Regions from separate parts of the Homo sapiens genome. Here region 1 is linked to region 2. Evidence: promoter capture Hi-C in human tissues and cell types (Jung and others, 2019). All regions are on one chromosome and are shown on one strand. Each heading gives the region's core, a stretch centred on a gene start or on the middle of the fragment in contact. The rest is flanking DNA. Distances are from core to core; before and after follow the strand shown.

Evidence for each region. Contacts are between HindIII fragments. The study calls those that stand out against the background at their distance.
Region 1: a contact is called between a fragment that was not itself captured here and the fragment with the promoter of SLC22A17 in region 2, in 1 of the 25 tissues and cell types used here (pancreas).

What each region holds. Positions count from the first base shown.
Region 1 is chr14:22,969,511-22,976,457 of GRCh38, forward strand. AJUBA (ajuba LIM protein) reads right to left here. Exons shown (of 8, transcript NM_032876.6): 4 at 6,946-6,947; 5 at 5,464-5,594; 6 at 5,329-5,380; 7 at 4,537-4,605; 8 at 1,667-4,058. The coding sequence ends at 3,933. Among named protein-coding and RNA genes, the nearest start is that of AJUBA, 9.6 kb to the right of the region's middle. RefSeq lists an enhancer at 5,388-5,888. The HindIII fragment of the contact is 4,887 bases long and covers 482-5,368 here.
Region 2 is chr14:23,351,328-23,358,205 of GRCh38, forward strand. SLC22A17 (solute carrier family 22 member 17) reads right to left here and starts at 1,560. Exons shown (of 10, transcript NM_016609.7): 1 at 1,319-1,560; 2 at 621-1,124; 3 at 425-528. The coding sequence starts at 1,414. EFS (embryonal Fyn-associated substrate) reads right to left here. Exons shown (of 6, transcript NM_005864.4): 6 at 5,079-6,333. The coding sequence ends at 5,899. The HindIII fragment of the contact is 16,780 bases long and covers 1-6,784 here.

The DNA.
Region 1 (6,947 bases), core at 1,675-4,174, 380 kb before region 2:
CAGAGTCTTGGGGAGCCCCAAGGCTAGGACAATCAGCACAGACCTAGAAAGGAATGAGTCGGATCAGGAACAGAAGAGGCCAAAATCAGAGTAAGAAACAAAGGGTCAGGAGCTGGGCACAGAAGCTCATGCTTGTAATCCCAGTGACTTAGGAGGCCAAAGTGGGAGATCACTTGAGGCCAGAAATTCAAGACCAGCCTGGGCAACATAGTGAGATGCTGTCTCTAAAAAAAAATTTTTTAAACTTAGCCAGTCATGGTTGTGCACACCTGTAGTCCCAGCTACTTGGGAGGCTGAGGCGGGAGAATCGCTTGAACCCGGGAGGCAGAGATTGCAGTGAGCCATAATTGTGCCACTGCACTCCAGCCTGGGTGACAGAGTGAGACTCCCAACTCTTTTTTTTTTTTTTTTTTTTTGAGATGGAGGCTTGCTCTGTTGCCGAGGCTGGAGTGCACTGGCATGATCTCAGCTCACTGCAACCTCTGCCTCTCGGGTTCACGCCATTCTCCTGCCTCAGCCTCCCGAGTAGCTGGGACTACAGGAGCCCACCACCACGCCTGGCTAATTTTTTGTACTTTTAGTAGAGACGGGGTTTCACCGTGTTAGCCAGGATGGTCTCAATCTCCTGACCTCGTGATCTGCCTGCCACGGCCTCCCAAAGTACTGGGATTACAGGTGTGAGCCACCGCACCTGGCCTTTTTTTTTCTTTTTGAGATGGAGTCTTGCTCTGTTGCCCAGGCTGGAGTGCAGTGGCGCGATGGCTAACTGCAATCTCCGCCTCCCGGGTTCAAGCGATTCTCCTGCCTCAGCCTCCCAAGTAGCTGGGACTACAGGTGCACCCCACCATGCCTGGCTAATTTTTTTATTGTTAGTAGAGACGAGGTTTCATCATGTTGGCCAGGATGGTCTTGATCTCCTGACCTCATGATCCTCCCACCTCAGCCTCCCAAAGTGCTGGGATTACAGGGGTGAGCCACTGTGCCTGGGCAAGACTCCCAACTCTTAAAAAAAAAAAAAAAAAAAAGAGGCAGGGCTCAGTGGCTGACAACTGTAATCCCAGCACTTTGGGAGGCCAAGGCAGGCGGATTACCTGAGGTCAGGAGTTTGAGATCACCCTGGCCAACATGGCAAAACCCTGTCTCTACTAAAAATACAAAAATTAGCCAGGTGTGGTGGCGCCGGCCTATAATCCCAGCTACTCAGGAGGCTGAGGCAGGAGAATCACTTGAACCCAGGAGACGGAGGTTGCAGTGAGCTGAGATTGCACCATTGCACTTCAGCCTGGGCAAGAGAGCGAGATTCTGTCAAAAAAAAAAACCCTGAGAGCCGGGCACAGTGGCTCATGCCTGTAATCCCAGCACTTTGGGAGGCCGAGACAGGCAGATCACAAGGTCAGGAGATCGAGACCAGCCTGGCTAACACAGTGAAACCCCGTCTCTACTAAAAATACAAAAATTAGCCGGGTGTGGTGGCGGGCGCCTGTAGTCCCAGCTACTTGGGAGGCTGAGGCAGGAGAATGGTGTGAATCCGGGAGGCGGAGCTTGCAGTGAGCCGAGATAGCGCCACTGCACTCCAGCCTGGGCGACAGAGTGAGACTCTGTCTCAAAAAAAAAAAAAAAAAAAAAAATATCCCTGAGGGGATGGATGTAAAGTTACACAAGCTTGTCTGGATTTCCCATCATAGGGCCTTTGTATTCACTTATTTAATAATAGTTCAGAAGAAGCTATCTCAGCTGTACAAGAAGTAATTCAGTTTCAGAACATTTCTCACTCCAACAAGGTGCATTTTCCCCTCTGGCGCTCAGTTGTATAAATCTGACCTCTTTCCCTCTCACTCAGAGATCTCTTTTATGTATTTCCCAGGTTGGCTGGCATAGTCACCTTAGAATAGCCCCCAAATGTGGAAATTCTGTTGTCAGGAGTCATCATTTCCAGTAAGAAACTCACTGAGTGACAGAAAATGAAGACTAAAGATCAAAGATTACTAAATTAATTTGCCTAAAACCAATTCACCTAAAACCAATTAGTCTAAAATAAATATTTATCAAATCTGCAGCATTTCAAAAGGATTTAGCAGATTCACCCTTTTAGTTATTACTGTTGTCTGTATAACTTTTCATTGTAAGTCAACTGAATATGCCTCATGCCTATTCATTTGTTTAAGATATACTGGCCTTTTTAACAGTAGGAATGTAGAAGTTAGACCAAAGCATCAAAATCACATTGAACTCCATTATATTTTTCAAGGCATTTAATTTGTAAAGGAATATTGGATTAAGAAACAAAAAAATGATACACAAAATGTCTGTACCAATTGTATTTATTGCTAGAAACTTTAAACTTTTTAAAAAAGTTTTTGAATGGTAGATAACATAGAAAAAGACATCCATAAAGGTAGGAAGCAATCTCATCATTTACAAAGTGCTGCAAATTTGATAAATTTATGTTGCTGATAATAGCTCAGAAGTACTCTTGGATGAATAGATATAAATCCTTGAAATATCCAAAGCATGACAAAAAAGAATAGGACACCTAAATGGATATAAACACACCAAAATAGGAATTGAGCTTTTGGCAAATTAGTCATTAAGTCATTAACTTTAAGCAAACAAGTTTTCAGTAAATTGGTTTTAAGAGATCTAGCTTTAGGTGAACTAGTTTCAAGCAAACTGACTAGTATCAAATCAGTGTTTTGCTCCCTCCAGTTCCCCCCAACTCTAGTTTTGGGATTGTGATGGATGCAATCCGGGACCCCTCTGAGAGGTGGCAAGTGAGCTTCTACTAGGAAACCAAGTGTACAAGTGACCTGAGAAGAGAGTAAGAAAGAGTGAGAGAGAGACAGAGAGACAAGAGAGAGAGTGTGTGTGTGCATGAACACACCCACACATGCATACACTGGGCTATATGGCTCAGTGCACCTAAACTTGGGAATGTGGCTAAGCTGAAGCTTCCTAGACATCCCCCCAACAAGCTCCACACCCACAGAGATCTGCTCATTACCTCCCCCAGCCAAGGAGAAGAGCAACCACGTACAATCACCTACCTAGCCTCCCCAGACCCATGTAAGTTCCTGAGAAACAGGGAATACAGGCAGCAACCCCACTCAGAGCTGGTCCCCATTCTCAGACAGATAAGGAGCTCTCCTAGTCCTTAGAAGAAGGCCAAGAAATAACTCATTAATGAGGTCCAGAGTTTCTACCTCTTCATCCAGATATAGGTGCGGGACCCCATATCTGACACCATGTGTCACAAAAAGTGAGGAGCTTAAATTTGGTTGCCTAGCAGGAACTCACCACCCTAGACTTGCTACCTCTCAGGGACATCCCACACTGCATCAACCACAACCCCAAAACTCTGGGGTTTGGGGGAGCTGGAGGGAGAATTACACTTTGATTTGGTTCTAGTCAGTTTAGCTGAAACTAATTGATTTAAAGCTAGGTCCTCTACTCCTGGAATCCAGGACCAGAACATTGCGTGACTCATGCATAATCATACACTAGGCCAGACACAGTGGCTTACGCCTATAATCCCAGCACTTTGGGAGGCCAAGGTGGGAGGATCATTCGAGCCCAGGAGTTCAAGACTAGCCTGGGCAACATGGTGAGATCCCATCTCTAAAACAAACAAAATATATATACTGAAGATACAGAATCAGATGTTCAGAAAGTCCTGGAACCCTCCTGTGTGTGCCTAAGCTCAGACTGCACACATGGGAAAAAGGCCAGTCGCCCCCACCCTGGTAAATATAAGGTTTCTCTTCCACAATCCATTTGGAATATCATGATCTTTGGGTCTCCGGCCCTTGGGGTCCTCCCCAGAGGACTCTTCTGCCAGGCCTGCAGAGTGCATTCTTTGCCTTGGCTGGCCTCAGAGGGGCCCACTGGCCACAGCAGTTTGTCTGCAGGGTGACAGCAGCAGCAGTGATTGCAGCTCAGATATAGTTGGCAGGGGGTTGTCGGGCATTGAGCCGCTGCATGTGGCAACCATGGCAGAGCAAGTGCCCATCCAGAGGGAAACAGCAGCAGCCTTCCTCATCACTCAGCTGCATCCGGCAGTCCTAGGGAAGAAGGCACCTAGTTCACCTCAGCCTAGGCACCTTGGACACTGAGGGTATCTTAGGAGTCTGCCCTGCTCAACACCTGACTCCTAATAACTGGAAGAAAGGGATGGGGTGGGAAGGGAAGGATGGAAGGGATGGAAGAGCAATCTGAGAAAATACTAATACCTCAGCTGGACACCAGGTGTCACTGCTGCAGCAGAAATAATGACACAAGCCTGTCTTTCAAGAAGTTTGACCAGAGTCCCTAGTCTTAGAAAGTCCTGACTCTGGGAGAGTCAGATTCAGAAAGGACTAAGCTACTTGGACCAGAGAGAGTGGCTGGAGGACAAAAAAGAGACTGAAGATAGGTCACAATATCTTTCTGGTTTCCCATGCCCTACACCTCTCCCATAGATGTCTGGTTGTTGCAGGACTTGACTCCTCCCCTCTCCCCATTTCCACTTCTTCTCCAGCACCGCTGAACCCCAACACTCACCTCACAGTGGTAGCACTCAAAGTGATAATCCCGGTCCATGGATATCACCCTCACGATGTCCTCACAGCCCTGAAACATGCAGACCCCCATGGAGATGAGAGCAGCATGTTGCCTCACCTCCACCTTTCCCTCATATACAACCCTTCCCACCCCATGGGAAGATCATACAAATGCCCCCAGAGTCTCTCTGCAATCACCTGTAGTTTTAAGATGCTTCTGCAAATCCTACCAGAACTCTCATCTCCTTCACTGGGCTGCACCCATGGAGCACACTCCCTCTGTACAACAGCCCTGGCCTTACCTGCGTCTCTCAGTTGTGCAGGAAGCAAAGGGAAGGGAAGGGGACAGGAGGCCTAAATAAAGTAGGCTAGGCTGGGAACAAGGGGATCCAATAAGATCTGGTCCTCACTGGCTTTTGGTTTCTCTCCATAGGCACATCCCCTACACTCAGCTTAAATCATTTCTGACCCCTTCCTACCAGTGCTGAGGATTCTTCCCACCTTTTTCCAGCCCCTACATCTGCAGTCTGGTGACCTCGACCTCAAAGAAAGTCTCCTCCTCTGGACTGGGATAGAAGAGATGGAGCCTGGGCCCAGTTAGGCTTTCAGACATGTCCAGGCCCGGATATTAGGGTCAGGGTGGTGACCCCAAGAGGCAGAGTCACACGGGAATCTTCACAGAGTACATTCCTTGGCACTACCACTTCTGGCAGGAGGCCAGGCAGCATGTCCCTATCCCCTCCCCAAAGGCAGTGGCACTGGCTGCCCTGAAGGAGAACCCAGACATACTGACCTCAGAGGGGAGGATGGGTTGGCCACAGGCTGCACACTTAGGAGCATAATTTCTGAAAGAGAGAGGGAAGAGATGAGCTGAGGCTGGGGAATCCCTGGACCCAGTTCCACACTGCATCCCAAGGGGCAGACTCACTTGTGGTAGTCGGTGACACAGTATACTTGGTTGGAGAAGTCCACTGTGAAGGGGATGCCATCCAGGCACTTGTTGCAAACAATGCATCGGAAACAGCCTGGATGATAGGACTTCCCCATTGCTTGTAGGATCTGGCTCATGGGGTAGCAAGAGAATCAGTCTCCCTCCAGTCCCAGCTCTCCAGCTGCCCATTATGCTCCTTATTACTCCCATTAACCTCATCCAACCCGCTGCTATACTCCCAGAACAATGCTATGTAATGTCGGTGAAGAAGTCGTAAAATGGAGGCGGAGACCCTGAAAAGTGCCTGAGAGAGCATTCAGGCCAGCAGTGTTTCACTCTGGCTGCATATCAGGATCACCTAGGCAGCTTTTAAAAAACATCAATGCTTTGGCCCTCCTCCAGGCCTATTATCACAATCTGTGGTGATGGGATCCAAACACTGTTTTTTGTTTTGTTTTGTTTTTTAGTTCTTCCCAGCTGATCTGCTAGGCTACCATGATTGAGAATCACTGATTTAATCCTATCTTTTGTTTTTACAGAAAAGAAAACTGAGTCCCAAGTGATTCTAACCAGTAGCAGAAAGGGGATTAAGACTCAGGACTGGCCGGGCGCGGCGGCTTACGCCTGTAATCCCAGCACTTTGGGAGGCCGAGGTGGGCGGATCACAAGGTCAGGAGATCGAGACCATACTGGCTAACACAGTGAAACCCCGTCTCTACTAAAAACACACCAAAAAATTAGCCGGGCATGTGGCGGGCGCCTGTAGTCCCAGCTAGGCAGGAGAATGGCGTGAACCAGGAGGCGGAGCTTGCAGTAAGCCGAGATCGCACCACTGGACTCCAGCCTGGGCAACAGAGTGAGACTCCATCTCAAAAAAAAAAAAAAGAAGACGACTCAGGACCCCAGGCTGGGCATGGTGGCTCACGCCTATAATCTAGCACTTTGGGAGGCTGAGGCAGGAGGATCACTTGAGGCCAGGAATTCGAGACCAGCCTGGCCAACATGGCAAAACCTTTTATCTACTAAACATACAAAAATTAGCCAGGCATGGTGGCGCATGCCTGTAGTCCTAGCTACTTGGGAGGCTGAGGCACTAGAATCACTTGAACCTGGGAGGCGGAGGTTGCAGTGAGCCGAGATCATTCCACTTTGTCAGAGCGAGACTCTGTCTCAAAAAAAAAAAAAAAAAAAAGACTCAGGACCCCACACTCCTAGCTCAGGCTGGAAGGCCTGGCTGTGCCTGCAGAGTTAGGGAGGGGCTAGGTCATAGAAGCCTGGGTTGACAGGCTTTTGAGCCCAGACTTGATCCCATAGGCAGAGGGAAGCCACTGTAAACAGTTGCTCTGGGGAGGAATGGGATGAAAGTGATTCATCTGGTGACAGGCTTCTTTCCCCAACCTTCTCTCAATATCCATTTAGTCCCTGATCCCGCTCCTCAGCCTCACAGTGAGACTTCTCAGCTGAAAGCACTTTACTTACCT
Region 2 (6,878 bases), core at 310-2,809:
TGTTTGTGAAGTTGAACTATTGATCAGTGGGAATGGAGCTGTTGGTGTTTAGGAATTAACATATTGATCTTCAGGAATGAGGTCACTGAGATGGAGCGAACAGTCCATGTGGGCTGTTAGTGGGGATGAGACTATTCTCTTTGGAGATGAGGCCATTGATTCACGGATAGGGGGCCACTAATTAGTGGGAATGGGACTAATAGTCCATAGAGGTCGAGTCATTCCCTTGCGCGGAAGAGGTAGGGAAGGGGTATTTCTTGATGGAGAGTGAAGTTGAGACATGGATAGACCATTGAATAGAAGTCCAGAGAAGACTGCAGAGTCCAGCGAATCGTCTTCGACCTCCTGTAAACGCCCGCTGCTTGGGTTAGCTTCCCTAGCACCCCCTCCTTTCTACCAGCCCTGCCCCCACGACAGCCCTCACCTGTCTGCGGGGTAACCCAGGAACAGGTAGCCGGAGGCAAAGCCCAAGATGAAGAGGATCTGCTCCAGGATCACCTGCCAGCCCAGGTCACACACCAGATCCCACTGGGGATGTGAGAAGGGTGCAGCGGGCGTGAGGCCCCGCCCTCGCCGCTCTCTGCCCGCCCCCAGACCCGCGGCCCGCCTGGCCGCCTCACCTGGCCGATGGCGTTGGTGGTGAGCACAGGAAGGCCATTATAGTCCCAATCCTTGAGGCAATGGTTGAAGTCCGGCGGGGCGAAGCCGCTGCACGAGGGGTCGGTACTGGTGGCGACACGGCTGGCGGCGCTGGCTGCTAGGGCAGCGCTGGCGACGCTGACGCCGCTGGCATTGGGAGGCTGCTCCCAGCCAGAGGCATTAGGGGGGAAGGCCCCGTAGTGGCAATGCAGCGGGGGCGCCAGCGTGAAGATGGGGTCCGAGGCCATGCCCAGAGCCACGAAGAGCACCGGCAGGCAGCAGAGGCCGAGCTGCAGCTGCTGGCCGCCGCCCAGCGCCCCCACCTGGGCGAGCAGCGCCTCAAAGCTGAGGGGGCCTGGGGGCACGGCCAGCGACAGGCTGCTGCCCAGTCCGTCGCCGCCCGCGTCTCCCTCCCCCTCCCGCTCGCGCTCCCGCTCACCCTGCAGCTGCTCCGTGGGCACCGCATCTCCGAGGGTCCCGACCTGCTGTTGGGGGGCAGGGGGTGGCAGGAGAAGGGTGAAGCGGAGGAAACCGCAGAGCAAGGGCAGGGGGCAGGTGGGAGGGAGGGCTAGGAAGGCAGTCAGGGGCGAGGGATGCGCAGGAGGAAAATGCCAGACGCTCCGCGGGGGCGGGGGTGCTGGGAGAGGATGGCGTCGCCACCTGGGGCTCGGGCACTTACTCCGTTGGAGGTGGGGGTGATCTCTACAGTGTTGTCGATTTTGCCGCCGCCCCCGCCATTGGGCTCGGGGGTCCCGGTGGCCACCCGGGGAGCCAGCTTGCCGACCGCAGGGGCCCTGCCGGCCCGCGCCGAAAGGATGCGCTGTCCTCTGGCTCAGTTGCGCGCCGGCTGCCCGGACACAGACAGCTCGAAGAGATCCCGCTCTGCAGCTCTGCAGCCGCGGGCGCCTCCTTGGTCTCTGCGATCTCTGCGCTGCTTTCCCCTCCCCTTCCTCTAGACTCTCCTCCCCTTCCCACGTCAGCAGAACCTTCGGTCCAGACTCTTCGTCAGAGAGAGGAAGGGGGGCCAGGGCCCAGGGGAGGGAGGGAAGGGGGGCTCTGTCGTCTCTTTCCTGGGTCTGCGGGCCATTGCGGTAAAAAAGAAAAAAAGCTGAAGGATAGTAGCTAGTCCAGGCAGATGCCAGAGATTCTTCCTCTGCTTCCAATCATTTGCCATCATTCATTCATTCATTCATTCACCCATTCACTAATCAGTAAAATTTAAGTGTCCACTACGTTCCAGGACTTGCACTAGACTTTAAGGATAACAGGGTGGACAAGTTCCACTTTGGAGACCTTTACTCCAGGGAGACAGACATGTAAACTGGCTATTACAGTACAACTTATGCATATGGAAGACTGTCTTGGCCCTGTATCAGCCCTAGCTTCAGTCCTCTACAAGGAGACCACTTTCTTGGGTTTCATCACTCCCATCCTGTTTGAATCTCCATTTCTCAACAGCATTTGGCACTGTTGACCCCTCTTCCTCTAAACACTCTCTTCCTTTGCTGCTGAGTCTCTCTTGCTCCCCTTTTCTCCATTGCAGAAATCGTCTTCCAGCTCATGGCATTGGTGCTGAGCATGGGCAGGCCATTATCCTCCCGGTTCTTGAGGCAATGATTGAAGTCCAGCGGGGTGACGCAACTGCAGGAGGGGTCTGTATTGGTAGTGATGAGGCTGTGGTGCTGGCTTCTAGGGCCATTCCCGTCTGTATCATTTAGACACCATGGTTCAGTGTCTGGAATCCTCACAGACTTAGTCCTAGGCCCTCCTCTCATCTCACACTGTCTCCACTTTGGGATCTTACCTATGCCCACAGCTTCAATCACCACCCATACAAACAATACAAACCTGACGCCCAGACTGACATCTCCAGCTTCCACCTCTGTTCTGAGCTCCAGACCTATGAAGCCACCTCTTATTTGACCTTCACCTTGGATGACTCACAGGGACCTCAAACTCAATATGTTCAAGACGAAATTTTTGCTTTTCCCCCATAACTTGGTTGGCTTCCACTGCTTTTTTCTGCAGCGAATGGCACCCTCAACATCGCATTGTGGCCAAATGCTCAGGCAACAGCCTTTAGAGCTTTCTCTTCCTTATCCATGTTGAATTCTTTACAAAATTCTGCCCATTTTACTTCCTATATATTCTCAGACATCCCACATCTCTCCATCTCTACCATTATTAGTCAAGCTACCTGTTGCAAAGACCACTTTAGCTCCCTAATTCCTAACTGGTGTTCAGCGTCCGCTTTGTTTATACCTCCTTATCACCCATATGTCATTTATAGTCAGATAGAATGATCTTTTCAAAATACAGATCTGATCATGTATCTTTCCTGCTAACCAGCCTTCAGTGGTGTCTCCTCACTGTCAAAGTGAATATTAAAAATCTAGATACCTCATACATGGTTCTACATGCCTGGTCACATGCTGTCTGTAGTTCCATCTCACTTCTTTCCCCAAACTCTCTGCACTCCAGCCACAGACCTTCTTCTAGTTTTCCCAGCGCCACGAGGCCTTTGAACAAGCTGGTTCCTGCACCTAAAAAGCTTCTTAGTCACATTTTTCTCATCCTTCAGCTCTCAGCCTAAACATCTTTGCTACACAGGAGTCTTCCCTAACCTCTAGAATTGCTACTCAAAGTGTGGTTCATGGACCAGCAGCATTCCTGGGAGCTTGTTAGAAATGCAGAATCCAAGCCTCACCCAGACCCTTGAATCATAATCTGTATTTTATCCAGATCTCCAGGCATAGGTATTATACATTAAAGGTAGAGACACACATCTCTAAGAGATTTGTTACCTGATAGGTACTTTATTCTCTAATCCTAGGTAAGGGCTAGAAAGCAGTGTTCTATCATTGTCAGCCGGGAAATCTTTCCCCCTTCTCTCCACTGAACCACACTTTTAACTTGTCTCTGTTCAGAAATTTTCCACGTATGGGAAACTCTTTTCTTCAGACAGGGTCTCACTGTCTTACCCAGGATGGAGTGCAGTGGCTTGATCACAGCTCACTGCAGTCTCCACCTCCCCAGCTCAAGCAATCCTCCTACCTCAGCCTCCTGAATAGCTGGGACTACATGCATGTGCCACCACACTTGGCTAATTTTTTGATGTTTTGTTGAGACAGGGTCTCACTGTGTGGCCCAGGCTGGCCTCATACTCCTGAGTTCAAGCCGTACTCCGGCCTCAGCCTCCCGAAGTGCTGGGATTACAGGTGCGAGTCACTGCATCCCTCCGAAACATTTCTTTGCTAATGCATCAAGCAGCCTCCTACCACTTCCCCTCTCCCAACTCATTTCAGCATCTCTTCAGGTTTTACTATGGTGCTGTATAGCCAATATTCCTTGGGGATTTATCGTCTGCATCCTTGTGTCTGTCCTGGAATAATAATCACTTAATTTATACATTGTGGGGCTGTTCACATGCATTTTCTTGTTAGGTCCTCACAATAACCCTGTAAGACCATTATGATCATGCTAATATTGAAGATGAAACCAGGACTTCAGAGGGACTGGCATGATTTACCCATGGATGCACAACTACATGGCAGATCAGAGACTTGAATTGAAACCTCTAATTCCAGGCTAATCTCTTGAAATTCTGTTTGGAAGATGATGGACGATAGACTTCAACACATGGGGGTGAATTTTGTTGGCCCCAGAATCTGACAGTGCATTTTTCTTTGAGAGTGAGATGAGAAAGGAACCTAAAGGGGAGGAGGCAAATGTGCAGGGGTGCCAACAGACTATGATTATGCCCCCAATCCAGTCATCATGCCATGGTAATATCTTGGGAAAGCAGAACTGAAGCAATTGATTTGTAGCTTGGATGTTTTCCCTTGTGGTAAATGGCTAGCGTGATCTATCTAAGCCACGGTCTTATCAATTTCACCAAAGTCCTGAAGACTGACCTTTCAACACATTGCATTCATCTGCAACCGCGGATCCTCCAGAAAATGGTTTGTCCAGAAGGATGATGAGCAGGTCATCCTGAGATGATCTACCTGGGAAGCCAAGTGAAAAGGCCTATACCCTCTTGGTGTCACCTAAGGAAGAGGGTGCCTAGACTGGCCAGCAGCAGTCTCCAGTTGGCCAGGGCTATCCTGTGGTGCAAAGCTGAGGCTGGGCCTTTAGTTGGGGTGGCCTCTCCAGGATGGCACATTTCAAGGCCCTTATGTGGTCAGCTTCTCTCCACATTGACACCTCTCTAATGACATCATATGACAATGAAGTCTTGGAGGAAGGCCCTCAGGTCAGTCATCGGCATCTGCCTTCTGGGAACACTAGTCCTCAGACTCTCCTCCTCTGGGTTTCAGTTCAGATCTCACCTCCCAACCATCCTGTCTAAAGTCTCCTTCACTGCCCTCTCCCCTCATCTAGTTAGTTTCTTCAAATCATCCTGCCGACGTCCATCACCAGCAAATGTCGAATCTATGGCAGGTTTATGTTTTTATTTATGTATTTTAACTGACTTATTTGTGTATCCCACTAGAACAATACATTCACAATATACTTGCAGAACTGTGCCTGGCGCGTCATGGGAGCAGAGAACTTGTCCAGTGAATAGTTGTTGAAGAAAGGAGTAAAATCTCCCCCAAACCCTAAAGGCATCCTTTTCGTAGTGTGTGTCCCATAGGTATGGCTGCTGAGCACCAGGGCTGCTCACCATGCTCCCAAGAAGCAGAGTCAGGGAGGCAGACAGCAGGGTTTATTAAGGTGCACACCCATGTCTGAGCCCCAGCTCTCTCCGCCTTCTGTGGGGAGAAGCCCTCCGGTCTTTCCGAGAACCTTCAAACTCTGGACAGTTTATGTCTTGCCCGCACTCTCAGCTAACAGTGCAGTGCTGATCTTCTAGAGCCAAGAAACAGGAAAAGAGAGAGGCTCTATGTGGCCCCAGGTTTCTGCCACCTGACTTTTCACAGCCAGTCTTCCAGAGGTGGGTGGTAGTGCAGTGACCTCCACCCTAGGCTGAGGAGAGAAGGATCTAGTTCCTCACTGCCCCAGAGCCTAGTACCTGCTCCTGACAAAGCAGGGAATAATATTAAATATAAATAATTTACACAAAATGGCTTGTACAAAAAGCTGTAGGTTAGGGGGAGAAGACACCTCTGTGAGAGGTTGAGATGAGCAGAAAGGGCAGGAAAGGGGAAAGATACCCCCATTTCTCCTAGTCCCTTAACAAAGCCTTCCAGCCACCCAAGGCCTAAAGGGGGGCTTTGGCAGGCAGGGGAGGAGCAGAGCTGTGCCAAAGGACCTTCATGGAGCCAGGCTAGTGAGCAGGGTAGTGAATTGCAGGGCCTGCCCTGCCAGTTCTGTTACACACTGCACCATCTCTTGGATGGCAGGGCTGGATGGGTAGCCCAGGGCAGCTCCCTTGACAGCCAGCACAGTGGCCCGCAATGCCTGGCCCAGTGCTGTACCTGCAGCCCTGACCTGTGCTCTCAGAGGGGCAGAGGCTGCCAGCCGGCCCAGGGTGTCCCCAACAAACACCAGGCGATGAGCAGCCACCACCACCCTCTTGCTGTGGGGCACGAAAAGGCGCGGGGGCTGATTAGCCTGGGTACTGGACATCAGGGCTGCCACGGCTGCCTGCAGGGCTGAGTAGTGGCTCTGGCATTGCCCAGCATAGAAGTACAGGAGCTGCAGATCTCCGGTGGACACAACCAGTGGCTCCCCTGGGGACAGGGCCTCCTGAAGGGCAAGAGGAGTGGTCAGAGAGAACATTCTCATGAGTGCCATTTCCTCCCTCACTTCTTTTCTCCTTCCTCTCTTTCTTCCCAAGGGCGATCCTTTTAGCTCTTACCTCTGCCCATCGGAAAGTTTAGATTCTAGAGAGAGCAGCAGTGAAGTGCCCACACTTGATATCAGATAGATCTGGATTCAAACAACCTCAAACTTGATTTCGGACAAGGCTTTGAACTTGGTTTCCTTAACTCTAAAACAGGGAGTCTAGGACTGCACTGTCCAATATAAACATAATGTGAACCACATGTGAAATTTTAGATGTGTTAGTAGCCACATTAAAAGTGGTTAAAAAAAAAACAAAACCCTAATATATTTTATCTAACTCCAAATATAAAAATGTTATAATTTCAACATATAATCAACATGAAAATTATTGAGATTTTTCCCATACTGAGTCTGTAAAATCCAGGCTGCATTTTATATTTGCAGCATATTTCAATTTGAACTAGGCCTATCTTGAGTGCTCAATAGCCATATGTAGCTAGTGGCTA